Regions from separate parts of the Homo sapiens genome. Here all the other regions are linked to region 1. The links are contacts of gene promoters, found by promoter capture Hi-C in blood cells and fetal thymus (Javierre and others, 2016). All regions are on one chromosome and are shown on one strand. Each heading gives the region's core, a stretch centred on a gene start or on the middle of the fragment in contact. The rest is flanking DNA. Distances are from core to core; before and after follow the strand shown.

What was found. Contacts are between HindIII fragments. The CHiCAGO score rates a contact against its expected background, and 5 or more counts as called.
Region 2: a contact is called between a fragment that was not itself captured here and the fragment with the promoter of MRPL3 in region 1, in 1 of 17 cell types (non-activated CD4 T cells). The highest score is 5.3, in non-activated CD4 T cells.
Region 3: a contact is called between the fragment with the promoter of MYLK-AS1 here and the fragment with the promoter of MRPL3 in region 1, in 1 of 17 cell types (activated CD4 T cells). The highest score is 5.5, in activated CD4 T cells.
Region 4: the fragment with the promoter of SEC22A here is called in contact with the fragment with the promoter of MRPL3 in region 1 in 1 of 17 cell types (naive CD8 T cells); the score reaches 5.8 in naive CD8 T cells.
Region 5: a contact is called between a fragment that was not itself captured here and the fragment with the promoter of MRPL3 in region 1, in 1 of 17 cell types (total B cells). The highest score is 7.9, in total B cells.

What each region holds. Positions count from the first base shown.
Region 1 is chr3:131,501,721-131,504,501 of GRCh38, reverse strand. It overlaps MRPL3 (mitochondrial ribosomal protein L3), which reads left to right and starts at 1,531. Exons shown (of 10, transcript NM_007208.4): 1 at 1,531-1,772. The coding sequence starts at 1,681. It overlaps LOC105374114 (a long non-coding RNA gene), which reads right to left and starts at 1,903. Exons shown (of 3, transcript NR_189111.1): 1 at 1,798-1,903. RefSeq lists enhancers at 1,633-1,702, 1,209-1,895. The HindIII fragment of the contact is 1,488 bases long and covers 744-2,231 here.
Region 2 is chr3:123,956,752-123,959,732 of GRCh38, reverse strand. It overlaps CCDC14 (coiled-coil domain containing 14), which reads left to right. Exons shown (of 13, transcript NM_001366335.1): 2 at 2,938-2,981. Among named protein-coding and RNA genes, the nearest start is that of CCDC14, 3.0 kb to the left of the region's middle. The HindIII fragment of the contact is 2,540 bases long and covers 116-2,655 here.
Region 3 is chr3:123,584,226-123,587,070 of GRCh38, reverse strand. MYLK-AS1 (MYLK antisense RNA 1) reads right to left here and starts at 1,558. Exons shown (of 4, transcript NR_121654.1): 1 at 1,518-1,558; 2 at 1,270-1,424. It overlaps HACD2 (3-hydroxyacyl-CoA dehydratase 2), which reads left to right and starts at 2,018. Exons shown (of 7, transcript NM_198402.5): 1 at 2,018-2,198. The coding sequence starts at 2,044. RefSeq lists an enhancer at 1,534-1,833 and silencers at 1,894-2,503, 2,514-2,693. The HindIII fragment of the contact is 6,053 bases long and covers 1-2,845 here.
Region 4 is chr3:123,200,518-123,203,527 of GRCh38, reverse strand. It overlaps SEC22A (SEC22 homolog A, vesicle trafficking protein), which reads right to left and starts at 1,585. Exons shown (of 7, transcript NM_012430.5): 1 at 1,542-1,585. RefSeq lists enhancers at 1,499-1,548, 1,789-1,868, 1,879-2,028. The HindIII fragment of the contact is 4,922 bases long and covers 264-3,010 here.
Region 5 is chr3:126,469,999-126,472,880 of GRCh38, reverse strand. ZXDC (ZXD family zinc finger C) reads left to right here. Exons shown (of 10, transcript NM_025112.5): 2 at 576-728; 3 at 830-908; 4 at 1,856-1,986. Among named protein-coding and RNA genes, the nearest start is that of ZXDC, 4.5 kb to the left of the region's middle. The HindIII fragment of the contact is 321 bases long and covers 1,204-1,524 here.

The DNA of each region.
Region 1 (2,781 bases), core at 282-2,781:
TCTGATGCCACTTTAAAATCACTCAGCCTTAAGTCCAAATTTCATTTCAAGCCCCTCCCAGGTCACTCTTTTGGAAACATCCTCAGACATATGCTGTCTTTTGCTGCATCAAGCTAATTAAACTTGACTTTGTATGAGTTCACGTTTTCTTCTAGTAGCCTTGGCTTATGGGCTTCCACAATGCTGAGCACATACTCTAGCACACTATATGGATAAGAAATGTTAGTTATTGGCAGTAGTACAGAAATCTTCTTATTCTCAACTTCTTGCATGTAGCACACCTCAAAACATGTTTGTTCAATGAAGAGCCATCCTTAAGTATCTGGGAAGCCAGGCAGCATGGCTAGAATGAAGAGATGTAGTTTTTCCTTCAAGGTCCAAAGTATTATTGAAAAGTGTCTAAGGTAACTGCAACAGCAATGAGTGGAATGAATGGACAAGCAAAGCAAAGATTTTTTAGCCCACTAAAGTCCAAGTAATGGCCAGGAATTGACCATTGTCTGGACCTGTTAAACCAAGATAGCCAGATCTCTAGTAAAAAGAGAAGGTTGAAATAGCTACACTTTAAAGTTCTTATTTCCAAATTTCTACAAACAGTAATCTGACAAATAAGGGAATTAGTAGAAGAATAAATGTCCTAGTCACATACATGGTTATTAGGCTAGATCTGGAACCCAAGACAGGGGATTTTTTGTGCAGGTGTATTAGCTATCTATTATTGCATAACAAATTACCCTAAAGCTTAATGACTCAAAAAAACGGTAATCATTTATTTTCTCTGGCAATTTCTCCTAGTCAGTAATTCATGAGCGGCCTGGCTGGGAGATTCAGGCTTAACGTCTCCATGAGTTGCAGCCGAGGACTGGTGGATCCACTTCCTAGGTGGCTCAGTCATGACTGGCTAGTTGATTCCTCTTTATATGTTCCTCCCTGCAGAGCTGTTTGAGTGTCTGCAGGAAATGAAGGCTAGCTTTCTCCACAGGGAGCAATCCAAGAGACAAAAACTGAAGTAACAATATGTTTTATGATCCAGCCCTAGAAGGCATACATCATTTCTATGGGTGTAGTCTATTGATAACACATGCCAACCCTGTTTCAGTGCCAACTCTGCTCCTCTGCCAGATGTGTTGTTTTGGACCAGCACCTAAATTCTGAGTCAGTTTCCTCATTTATAATAGAAAAATAAATACTTCCTTTCAGGACCGTTTTTTATGATTAACAAATATAGGATTATGAAGCGCTGCTTAGCATAATGCATTGCCTCACAACGGGCACTATTTAGAAGTGTCTTCATTTTCCTTAGCGTCCTCAGGAAGTCTGTCCTTATTCTTCTAAAGTTTAAACTCTGAACATCCCTTTTATTTTACCCCTGGAGAGGCGAGTCAGTCCCTTCCCACCCCTACCTACTCCAACTCACATCCAAAGTAGGACAACGGTGGAAGCAGAACTATAGTTTCCGGGGAGCGACTCGAGTGCCCGGAGTTCATTGTAAAACGCACCGGAAGTGGGTCCGGCGGCTTTCTTTCCGTCGCAGAGAGCATCGGCCGGCGACCGTTCCGGCGGCCATTGCGAAAACTTCCCCACGGCTACTGCGTCCACGTGGCGGTGGCGTGGGGACTCCCTGAAAGCAGAGCGGCAGGGCGCCCGGAAGTCGTGAGTCGAGTCTTCCCGGGCTAATCCATGCCGGGTTGGAGGCTGCTGACGCAGGTCGGCGCCCAGGTGCTGGGTCGACTCGGGGACGGCCTGGGTGCTGCCCTGGGCCCGGGGAACAGGTAGGAAGGTGTGAGGGTGTCCTACCTGCACAGTTGCGTCCTGAAGCAGTGGAATGGCCTGGTGCAGTTGGGCCTCCCCTGGGTGGAGGAGGAAGGGGCTCTGTTGAGACGTGGGACACAGAAGAATAAGGGCCGTTAACCTAAGGAAGCACGTTCTAAGGGGATTGAAGTGGTGATTTTTAAAAAACGCTTATGAGCCAGCCACTAGCAGCGAACGCTATTAACAGCAATCATATCTTACAATTAGTGAGCGTTTGCCAGGTACTAAGCGCTCTGCTAAGTGTATTAGGTGCCTTATGTAGCCTCACGGGAGCAAACTGCTATCATAAGGTTTACAGATAAAACTGAAGGTTAGGGAGGTGAGTTAATTTGCCCAAAGTCACTCAACTAATAAGTGGAAAATTAGGAATCTAGCCTGAATTTATCTGACTACAAAAGGAGAGTAGACTGCAGAAAGCTTTACTTCTGTTCTGACCCTCCATGCAAGAATTACACCCCTTCTTCCTGACCTCCGCCCACTAAGGTCTTTCTTGGTATGTTCACCTGTTCAGAGGTCATGCCTTTTGTGGATCTTTTAACTTTGCACACCCAGTTTCTTCACTTCTCTGAACCTAGGCCATGTCATTGCAGGGAGGAGGTGAGCTTGTTAGACAAAGATCAACATGCCACCTTCTGCCACCTCCACTGAATGTAAAACTATTAAGGTACACTTCCAAATGGGTTAGTGGCTTTTCATGTCTATAGGTAGGACTGTTTTTTGGGGAATATGTTTATCTGCGAGGAGAAGATGAATTTTTTTCTCCAGGGTAACGACTAACAGTTTAAATGTGAGCCTTATCCGAAGGAATGTGGGGAGTGAGGAAAAGGTTGGAGACCTGAAAAAAAGGTATACAGAATCCAAGCCCTTTCCCAAGGCCCTGACTACACTTTCCAATTTGTGACTTCCCTTTTCTATATTAAGTGGAGGAAGTTTTTAAATTGTGGTTTGGTTTTATTTATTTTTTCTTTT
Region 2 (2,981 bases), core at 136-2,635, 7.5 Mb after region 1:
TGGTTTCCACGTACCACTGTCCACTAAGGAGTCATGGCTTCTTGGAGAAATGACCAACTCCAGGGCTGAGCAGGGGTAATATAAGAAGAGCATGGACACATCAAACTAAAAAGCTTCTGCACAGCACAGGAAATGATTAATGGAGTGAAAAGGCAATCTACAGAATGGGAGAAAATATTTCCAAGCCATGTATCTGATAAATAATATCCAAAATACATATAAGGAATTTCTATAACTCAAAAGCAGAACAACACATAACCTGGTTAAAAAACGAAAAAAGGATTTGAATAGACATTTCTCCAAAGAAAATGTACAGATGGCCAGCAGGTATATGAAAAGATGCTCAACATCACTAATCCAGGAAATGCAAATTAAAACCACAATGAGCTATCACCTAACCCCTGTTAGGATGACATTAAAAAAATGAAAACAAGTGTTGGCAAGGATGTGGAAGAATTGGAACCCTTGTACACTGTCAGTGGGAATGTAAAATGGTATAGCTGCTATGGAAAACAATATGGAGATTCCTCACCAAATTAAATATAGAACTATATCACCCAGCAATTCTACTTCTGGGAATTTATCCAAAAGAATTGAAATCAGGATATAGAAGAGATATTTGCACTCTTGTGTTCATTGCAGCACTATTCACAATAGCCAAATGTGGGAACAACCCAAATTCTATCTGCAGATGAACAGATAAAGAAAATATGGTATATACATACAATGGACTATTATTCAACCTTTAAAAAGAAAGAAATAGCTGTCATATGCAACAACAGAGACAAAACTTGAAGACATTATGCTAAGTGAAATAAGCTAGTCACAGAAGGACAAATACTGCATGATTTTACTTACATAAAGTACCTAAATAGTTAAAACTCATAGAAACAGAATGTGAGCATGGATTGGGCGTGAACCAGAGGGATTTTTGTTTTTTGGGTTTTTTTTTGTAAAGAACAGTATTGGGATAATTGGCAACATGTGAATAAGGTCTGAATATTAGATTGTAATTCTGTATCAATGTTAATTTCCTGGTTTTGATAATTATACTGTGGTTATGTTAGAGAATGGCCTTGTTTTTAGGAAACATTTAGGAGTAAAGGAGTATTGTATCTGCAAACTTAACTCTAATGGTTCAGGCAAAAAGTACTGCTGTGTATATATATTGAGAGAGAATATGGAAAATGTCAAGGTTCACAGAATCTGAGTGAAGCATATATAGGGCATCTTTGTACTATTATTTCATAGTAGAAACTACAAAAAAAAATTGAAAGGAATTGTTCCAATATGACAGTTACTGTTTCAAGGTGCTTTTATCATGGGTAGTTTTCTTTACCAGATTTTCTATAATATAGCCTTGTGTATATTTTTTGGAGAAACACCATATGTAATCTTACAGTTATGCCAGACATATACCTCAGACAGTGTACTTTAATTGTGGTAGTTGTTTTTGGACTCGATCCAGGGTATAGTATTATAGTGTCATGGCTTGGATTTTTTATTATGATTCCAGCCAAGACATCGACATAAATATACCAAAGGGAAGGACCCTGAGAGTGTGATGCAGAGACCAGTGGTGTGATGTTATACAAGGTCTTATTTCCTACATTGTTGGTTCTCACTGCTGGCTTCATGACCCTCCATCATAATCCAAGTTATCTCAAGACGTATAACTCTTACCAACCCAGTTTTTAAAAAATGTATTCTCAGTGACATTCTTAGAAGGATGGAGCACATATTCAAGCATATAATAGAATGCCGTATAACTTTAGAAAGTTTGGTAGTTACAGCTCAAAGCTATCTGGAGATGAAATTAAATATGTGAAGAGAAATTATAAATAAAACTGCCAACAGTGACTACATCTGGAGGGTGGAACTAGGGGGGGAATCAGGGACTTTCTCATGTCTATTTAAAATTATTTTGAATAAAGATTATATTTATCTGATATAAAATTATTAAGATATAAAATAGTATACCATGGAAAGTGTCCCTTCTCGCTCTGTCCCCCAGATACTCTGTTTCCCTCCCCAGAGGCAACCATGATTAACTGTTTCTGGCATAACTCCCAAGATACTGGATGCATGTAAAAGCAAATGCTTATTTTTTCCTGTTTTTCTACACAAAAGGTTGTCCATTATTGTCACTTTTAAAACAAAAAAGTTTAAGAAAACAACAGTGGTATATGAATTTAAAAAGAAAAATTAAGACAGTGAGATGTAGATAAAGAGACAGGGTAGAGTTCTCACTTCCTGGTCTAATCAGGCATTCTAAAGAATGTACATAAAAGGAACCAGAGTTAAGAACTCTGTCCTATATCATGAATTAACTTGCATGTTTCAAAGAATTTGGGACTATAGAACATATTTTGGGATTAATATAGTCTGAACTTAGTGTAGTAGTTACTTCTGGTTTAAAATAGTATCTCAATTTCCTTTTCACCTTAAATAGACTTAAGGAACAAATATATGTGTAGTTTGCTTGACGTTTTACATAAAAGAAATTTAATATATGAATTAAATTATAATTGTGTATTTTTAGGATATATCACATTAATTAAAACAGTGAATAATGTGGTACATACATATAATGGAATATATTTGACCTCAAAAAGGAAGAAAAATTTTGACACATGCTACAATATAGATGAAGCTTGAAGACATTATGCTAAGTGAAATAAGCCAGTCACAAAAGAACAAATATTGTATTATTTCAGTTATATAAAGTTTCTAGACTAGTCAAATTCATAGAAACTAGGATGATAGTTGCTAGGGTCAGGGAGAAGAGGGGATGGAAAGGTATTGTTTAATGGATGCAGAGTTTCAGTTTGAGAAGATGAATAAAAGAAAAAAATGACATTAAATTTTGTCAAGATAGCATATTGAAAATATAATAGAAAAATATTTGTTTATCTGCTATAATATATTATGTCATAGGTGTTATCTTCAGGAAGGCACACTGGACCTGCTAAATTAACAAA
Region 3 (2,845 bases), core at 309-2,808, 7.9 Mb after region 1:
ATAGTTTATAGCCAATCAATAGCTAATGTAATTTTAATGTAAATTCTTAGTAAACAACTTAGAAGCTGCCTCTTTTTCCTTTAAAAACCCACTCATAACCGCTGCTAATCAGAGTGTATATTTAGGGTAACTTGAATCTATGCTCCCAGGTAGCCATCTTCAACCTTTATGCTTGAATAAACTTCCTTTAAACTAGATTCTTACCTTTTTTATTATTTTAGGTTGACAACTCTCAAATTTATATCTCTAGCCCATTGGACTTCCTTCCCGAACCTCAGGGTCTAAATTTAATTGTCTATCCAGCCTCTCCACTTGGATGTTTAATAAGGATTTCAAATTCAACATATAAAAAACAAAATTCCCGACTTCCGCCTTAAAAATGGTTTCTTACAAGTTGCTCAAAACGCCTTTGACCTCACACTCCAAAACTAACATATCCACAAATCTTATAATTCTACTTCTAAAATACGCACAGAATTCATTGTTGTTTTCATCACCTCGATTTCCACCACTCTGGCCCACACCACTATCACCATGGCTGGATTATTGTAATAACTTCCTGATACCACTTTTCACCAACTAATACGAGCATTTTCGTCTGGTTCCCTCAGGGGTCCTTAAGCCCCAGGCTGCGGATAGAACCAATCCCTGGCCTGTTAGGAACCAGGAGGCACAGCAGGAGGTGAGCAGCAAGCAAGGGAGCATTACCTCCTGAGCTCCGCCTCCCTCAGATCAGCGGTGGCATCAGATTCTCATAGGAGCGGGGAACCTATTGTGAACTGCGCATTGGAGGGATCTAAGTTGTGTGCTCCTTATGAGAATCTAATGATAAATGTAATGCCTTTGAATCATCCTGAAACCATCATCCACCCCCCCACCACGAAACCGGTCCCTGTTGACCAAAAGGTTGGGGGCCGCTGCTCTATATAATCCCTGGGAGACTGACGACTTTGTCTCTTTCACTTAGTGCCATGAACTCCAGGGCAACTTTGTGGACGCTCCATAAACACTTGCTGGAATGAACCCATAAATATTTTATACTACCACATATACAGTAATACATTTAAGGAGCTGCTTGGGTGTGTAAAAAATTGCAGGGGACGTTTACAAATAAAGAACCTCCTGAAACAAAGCAATGAATGGAAAGTGGGATCAGCTGGTTGAAGCAATGCCCACAAGCTGCTCCAGCTTCCCAAAGCAGAGAGGTTTTCCACCTAAGCCAACATCCTTTTATTTTTAGTCACTATAGCTATAAATCTACTCCCTTACCCCGCACCTCACTCTCAGCCGACAGCCCAATGGGCTTATCCTCCTCTCGCCCTCACGATGAGCGAGTCCACGCGGTCTCAGGCTGGAAGATGCACTTGAACACCAGCCAAGCACTCACGGACGACACTGGATTCTAGGCCGCCTGGGCTTCTCCACTGTACTAGGAATGTAAAATCAAAAGTCAGAAAGAAAACTTCGGAGGTGGAATCTCCAACCCGGCAACGGGTTAGGAAGCAAAGCGCACCTACCAAAGGGCTGGTCCCTGCAGCCTCAAGGGCTGATGGGAAGTGAATCCACCGTCAACCGCCCTGATCCAAAATGGCAGGATACCGGAGCAATAGTGTTCAGGTGTGAAGATAGGGCAATTGAAGAAGGGAGAACGAAAGCATAATTGTTTTGATTCAACATGGAAGCAGTGATTATAGGAGGGCGAATAGCGAGGGACGACGCAACATCCAGCTGGCAGAAGCAGCGGGCCTGGAGAGGGTGGCTACATTGAACTAATCCAAGATGGCGCCGAGGTTGTAACCGGGAGCGCCCAAGAGGCGGGAATTACCCTGATCCAAGATGGCAGTGGCAACTGAGGCAAGCCGAAAGACGGGAGCGCCAGGAGCGTCTTTGCCCTCAGCCAAGATGGCGGCTGCCGTGGACCCTGTCCCGGCTCCGCCCCGCGGCCCTGGCCCCGCCTGCCCCTCGTCCCTTCCTCCGCCCCCTCTCCTCGCGTAGTCCGGCCCGAGCCGCTCGCGCTAGGAGAGCGGGCTTCGGGCACTTGACATGGCGGCAGTGGCGGCGACTGCAGCAGCGAAGGGGAATGGGGGCGGCGGTGGCAGGGCCGGGGCCGGGGACGCCAGCGGCACGCGGAAGAAGAAGGGCCCGGGGCCCCTGGCCACGGCGTACCTGGTCATCTACAATGTGGTGATGACAGCCGGGTGAGGCTGGGGCTCGGGGAGGCGGGGAGCCAGCGCGGCCGGGGAGGGAGCCCTGCGGCCAGCGGCGGGGCGGATAGGATCGGCGCGGCCCGCCGCAGGCAGTGCATTCCCGGCGGGGGGTGCCCGGGACCCGGTACCTGGGCGCTGAGGGCGGCCGAGCGCTGAATCGGCCCCGGTGGCTGCCCGCGAGCTCCCTCCTGCGCTGGGGGTCGAGCCAAGTTCCCAGGCACTGGGGCGCGGGGACGGCTGCCGGGCGCTGGCTCGCGAGGGCCGCGGGAGGAAAGGTGGGGCTGGCCACAGGTGCGGGGCCGGGGGCAGCGGCCGGACTACCTGCGGCGCGGAGCCCGTCCTGGGCGGCCAGATTCGGATGTTGAACGGCGCCAGCATGGGGAGTGGAGGAGCTGTGGCTGCAGAGTGACCATTCATTTGGGCGGCTGTTTTCAAAATCTGGGCTGCGCTTTAATCTGAAAGGTATTGGGAAAGCGTTCAAAGTTTTTGGCCAGCGACATGAGCAGAGCTAGGCTTTAGATGAGTTTAGACTTTTAGGATGGGTTGGGGTGGGGAAGAAACTGGGGAGTAGAAGGCAGAGTTACTGGAAAGGGGGAGAATGGACCCTCGAAACGGTTTTACCCATCTTCTGTCTCTTT
Region 4 (3,010 bases), core at 336-2,835, 8.3 Mb after region 1:
TGTGGCTACTAATAGCATCTATCTCATAGGCTTGTTTTAAAGATGACAATAGTATCTATCTCATAGGATCATGTAAAGTGCCTGAAACATTGCCTTGTAACATGCTAAAAGCACTACATTAAATATTTGCTGTATTATTTATTGATTACTCTCCATGGACCACGCACTTTATACACATTACCTCATTTAAGCGTTCCAAAAACCTGTGAGATAGGTATTATTAGTTCCATTTTACCTTTGAGGAAATTCAAGCCCAGAAAGCTTGAGGAATTTTTTTTAATCCCTAAACGAGTAGGTGACAAAGTAGGGATTTAAACTCAGGCCCAATTCTAACAACTCTGTGAGACACTCAAGGAAGGTCACAGGCACCCCTGTGATAAGACCTAGGCCTCTTTCATATACCAACATAAGATATACTTCGATTTTAACCAGTTGCACGCAAAAAAAAAAAAAAAAAAAAAAAAAAAAAAAAAAGGCACTAAACAGATGTGATGGTTTTCAACATAGGAAATACCCGAATGTCCCATTACTTTAGGATATGGTCACAGGTGTCAGAGTCAAATACTGAATGAACCTTAATATATCAGAAATTGTAGGTACCGTTTAAGGCATTGCCTGATTCCTTACAATCTTAGCATGTAAGCAAATATCAGTAACATGGAAAGTGATTCAGAGTTTGAAAAGTGGCTGTTCCCCTGACTGAAGATCCCAACATCTCCAGTCTGGTGGCTGATACTTTTGCTCTGGGCTAGGCTTTGCCTTGGCTGAATAGGCATAGGAGGGACTGGTTCTCAAGCTCGCCCCCTGCCCCAGGTGGATGATCCAGGAAACTAAGCAGCAGGGAAAAATTATCTTAAGCTGTCTTCACTGGCAGAGAGATTCAAGCCAGCTGGGGCTTGTCCTTTTCTTTTGGAAGCCTCCTCCACTTGCCGAGCCAATTGCTCAGGTCTCCCTTCTGCCACATCGTTCCCAAAGTGACTCTTGAGACAGGGTCTCAAGAGATTTCCGTGAGCCAACGCGGGCAAATATCTGGGCTCAGGGCTCACTCCATCCCCACAAAACGTAAAGTAAGACACTGGTTCAAGTCCCATTCTGCCTAAAAGAAATAGGAAATGCCACCTCAAGCTCTCATGGGCCACCTACACAGGTAGATCACCGTGTTTCTGACACCTGGGCGCCAGGGAATCCCCACCACCATGCTGACAGCCAAGTGCGACTGTCCCTCCCCTTCAAACACTCCTTTCCTGGCTGCCCAACACCCGAGGCGGCTCAGACGAGGCGCAACCGCCGCCCGCCTGGCCCCAGAGAACCCTCAAGTCGAAGGGGACGGGGTCCCCGCTTGCCCGTCCCTCCAGAGCTCCGCGGCCCCGACTCCCATCCCAAAGGCACGGACTTGGCTCCTGCCCGTGGGGTAGGTCTTCAATCCCGAGGGCGAAGGCCGAGGCTGTGGCGAGAGGCAGGGAGCGGGAGGGGAGAGGCCGGCAGGGATTCGAACGACCCCTAAGAAAGGAAGAAGAGGACTGGGAGGGGCCGGGGAGTACCTGTCGAGACGGGACCCGCCGCTCCGAGTGACGCGCCCCGAAGTGCATTGTGGGGCCTGGGAGGGACCTTTCGGCGACGCTGCGGCGCGTCCAACGTGGCTCGCGCCCGCGGAATCAAACCACGCCCCCGTTCCCTCAGCTCACCCAGGCCAATCGGGTTCTGCAGGAAGGACACAACAACCCCCCAGCTCCCGGGGCCCTCCTTAGTCCCACCCGCTCCAGGAGAGATTGGCAGCTTCTCTCGCACCTGCGCCAGAAAAGTACAGCATCCTCTGATGACAGAACTACGTTGACTTCAGAAATAGGGCCAATCTCTTCCGCTCGCCGCCCTGTTTCTGCAGGCATTTTGTCTCTCACACGCGGCCCTACAGCAGACACTTATAAAGGGGACAGGGAGAAAAGCCCCCTCTGGGTGAGCAAGGAGAAGACCTGGCCCCGTCTATTCCCACACACAAGAAGGAAACTAACCATGGCAGAGAAGTGCCAGATGCTGACCCTGCGACCCCTTCCAGCCTTCGCATCGGTCATGCATTATTAAACAGGCATTTCCTGACTGTTTACCATGTGCCAAGCACCGTGTTAAGCACGGGGTTACAGGAGTGGACATAACACTTGATGGAATTTAAGGAGTAATTGGAGCAAGAGATATTAAAGCATAAATAGTTACAGAACTACAAATTGTCAGTATTGGGAGGGAAAATTAGTGGGTGCAATGATCAATTAATTTTGGACTATCAGGGAAAAGACTTCTGAATAAGTGCCTTTTAAGCGGCAGGCATATTGAAGAGCCTTAGAGAATGTTCCCCGCCAAGGAAATATTGTGTGAGGTTGTCGGGGCATGAAAGAACTTCTTGTGCTCTAGGAACTAAAAGGGAGTCAGTGTGGATGGAGTGTAGGGAGCAAGGAGAAACTTTGCCCGTTGACCTTAAGATATCTTCCAAAATACAGCCTGAAATCTGTAATGTGGCCAATAAGAGTCAGCATGGTCTGGCCCTTGTCTCATCTCAGCCCAAGGTCAATGGGCAGCTAATAAAGACTATTAAGTAGGATCCTATTTGCATATTTAAGAATCACTCAGGCTGTTTGTGGAGAATAGTGTGGAAAAGGGCAAGAAGGGCTGCTGGAAAGCCATTTGGAGGCAGTTGCGTCAGGCAAAGCCAGAAATGATGGGGCTTGAACTAGTGTAATGGGAGTTAGAGACAGAAAGAGGTAGATAATTTCAAGATATGTATAAATTAGAAATGGTATCCAAGGGACTTCATAACGGATTGGTTTGCCGGGAAGGGTCAACAAAAAGGAATATTAAGGATGACTCCTTAAGTAACTAGATGGATTAAGAAGCCATTTACTGACTCATGGAACACAGAAAGAGGAGCAAATGGTTTGGAATATGTTAAATTTGAAATGCCTATAAATGGAGATGTCAAGTAGATTTGGATATGTAGGTCTAGAGTTCAGAAGAAAGGCCT
Region 5 (2,882 bases), core at 115-2,614, 5.0 Mb after region 1:
TTAGGATTGAGGTGAAGATTACAAAGCAGGGAACCTAAGGAAATTGCGAAAGGAAAAAGAATCCAAACAGCAAGGGACAGGGCTGGCAGTTGGAGGGTGTCAGGGAGGAAATTTGGATATGTAGAGGATGCAGCATCACCCCCAAGGGGTGAAAAATCCTGGCTAGTAGGATGATTTGTAGCCTTTCAAAGATCAACCCTACCAGACAAAATCTTGTTCCTTAGTATTTGATTTCTCTCATGGGGTTCTTGGGTCTCAGTGTGTGTGCAGGATCAGTGCTCCGGAGCCGGCCAGTAGATGGCTGTGAACGGAGGACTTTCTCTTTATCGGTTGCTCCATCTCCAAGTCATGTTGCAACAGGTGGCCAGCGTGTGCCTATTGGCTGCCATTAGCTGCCTTCCTGTGGTGATCACAAAGCCAAGCATTAATGGTCTTCCCTTTTTAGAGAGTGCTTCTGAGTCATGTTTTCCCTTGTCTGCTTCAGTGTGAACAGGGTCTGGTGGGTGTGACTAGCATTAGCTATGTTGTATAATTTTTGCCACGCTTTGAGCAGGGTTTGTGTTTTCCTTGTTCAGGCTGTGAGAAGACATTTATCACAGTGAGTGCCCTGTTTTCCCATAACCGAGCCCACTTCAGGGAACAAGAGCTCTTTTCCTGCTCCTTTCCTGGGTGCAGCAAGCAGTATGATAAAGCCTGTCGGCTGAAAATTCACCTGCGGAGCCATACAGGTAATGAGCTAGGGAACGCACAGCATTTGGACCCAAGATTTGTCTTCATCGTAGCTGTTGGAGTTGTAAATTTTATGCTGTATAATTTTTTCTTTTATAAGGTGAAAGACCATTTATTTGTGACTCTGACAGCTGTGGCTGGACCTTCACCAGCATGTCCAAACTTCTAAGGCACAGAAGGTAATCCTTACATTTTGGTTTGCATTATCAGGTTTGAAAATGAGTGGTTTGTCAGCAGCAGAAACCAATGAATGAAATATCTGTAGACATTTTTTAAGTTGTTAAAAAAGGAGCTCAGTGTTGATGATTTGGAAAATTCAGAAAACTGTAAAAAGAAAATTGCTCAGAATCTCATCACCTGAAGTCAGTTTTTTCTGTGTATACTTTTTTTAAAAAAAGCTAAATTGGCATACTCTGTTCTTAAAAAAAAAACAATTCCAGGTTTTTTTTTTAACTTAACATTGTAGAATAAGCTTTCTTCATGTAATTACAAGTTTTCATGGTGGTAATGACAACCCTGGAGACTGTGTCCAGGTGACACTCAGCACTTTACATGTGTGTCTTCTACCTTCCCAACAACCTCAAAGCTAATGTTCTTATTCTCCCTGTTTTACAGTGAGACTCGGAGAGATTCAGTGGTTTTTCTGTACTTGCACAGCTGGGCTCTGAGGATTTAATATAAAAATGTCACTTAGGAAAAGACACAGTCTTTACAAGTTGGCTTAAGAGAGTCCTTTTGGCATTGCAGCTGATGCTCTGTGCACATTTCTCACGACCGTCTGTCGCTCGGAAAGCTTGTTGATCATTGGGGTTTCTAAACAATAGAAACACCTTCATCAATACATTTGGGACTCCACTGTTCTTAGATTAGCTTATATTAGATTGAAGTAGCATTAATTGTTTGATGTGTGACTCTGGGGTCAGCTTAGTCATTAAAGTAGAATTTTTATGGGGTAGCTAAATTGCAAATCTGCTCACATGGATTAAAGACAGAATTAAGATTTTCCGAAATGTACTGATCATTTTTGTAAATGCAAAGTTTGTGTTTTGGTATGTTTTGTAGAATTTTAAAGAATTATGGTGAGTTGTGTGAGGAATCACAGCTCCTTTATTTTTCTGTCTGGCAGGAAACATGACGATGACCGGAGGTTTACCTGCCCTGTCGAGGGCTGTGGGAAATCATTCACCAGAGCAGAGCATCTGAAAGGCCACAGCATAACCCACCTAGGCACAAAGCCGTTCGAGTGTCCTGTGGAAGGTAGATTTTAAAACATTGCTTTGAGCAGTAAACTAAGTGCAATGCCAACATTTATCCTGTTAAGTTTCCGTTGTTTAAAGGTAAATGTTAGCTGCTTAAAGACTGACTCAATATAAGTTGCAGCATTATGTTTACTTACCTCATTGAGTTAATTGTACTATTTTGGGAGCAGTGACTTGAGAATCAGACGCAGTTTGACTCATGGCCCTGATCCTCATTAGATCTGTGGCTCTAGTTAAGTTACCTGTTTAATTTGGTGGTCGTGAGGATTAGGTGAAATGTGGAAAATGCCTGTTTATCCATCTGGCATGGAGCTCGGACTCAGTAAATGGTAGGTACTTTTGAGATCACGTTTGAATTGTCACTCCAATCATTTTGTAATTGGAGAGCAGTAAAGCTAGACTGACTTTTTCTTTTTTTGTTTAATTTTTGAGACAGTCTTGCTCTGTCACCCAGGCTGGATGCAATGGTGTGATCTTGGCTCATTGCAACCTCTGCCTCCCAGGTTTAAGTGATTCTTATGCCTCAGCCTTCTGAGTAGCTGGGACTACAGGCGTATGCCACCACGCTTGGCTGATTTTTATGCTTTTAGTAGAGACAGGGTTTCACCATGTTGGCCAGGATGGTCTCAAACTCCTGACGTCAAGTGATCCACCCACTTTGGCCTCCCAAAGTGCTGGGATTACAGGTGTGAGCCACCACGCCCAACCTGACTTTTTAAAAGGTATAGTAGAGTGGTTTTTTCCTTTAAAACACTGAAGGCTCAGTTCATTTGCCAGAAATTGGCTGCGTGACCTGTGCGTGACTTGTGCGTGCTGGCCCTACTCTAGTTCTGCAGGTGCACTGGGAGGCAGTGAGCCAGGACACGTCGGGTGGTCATGGATTCAAAGTCTGGC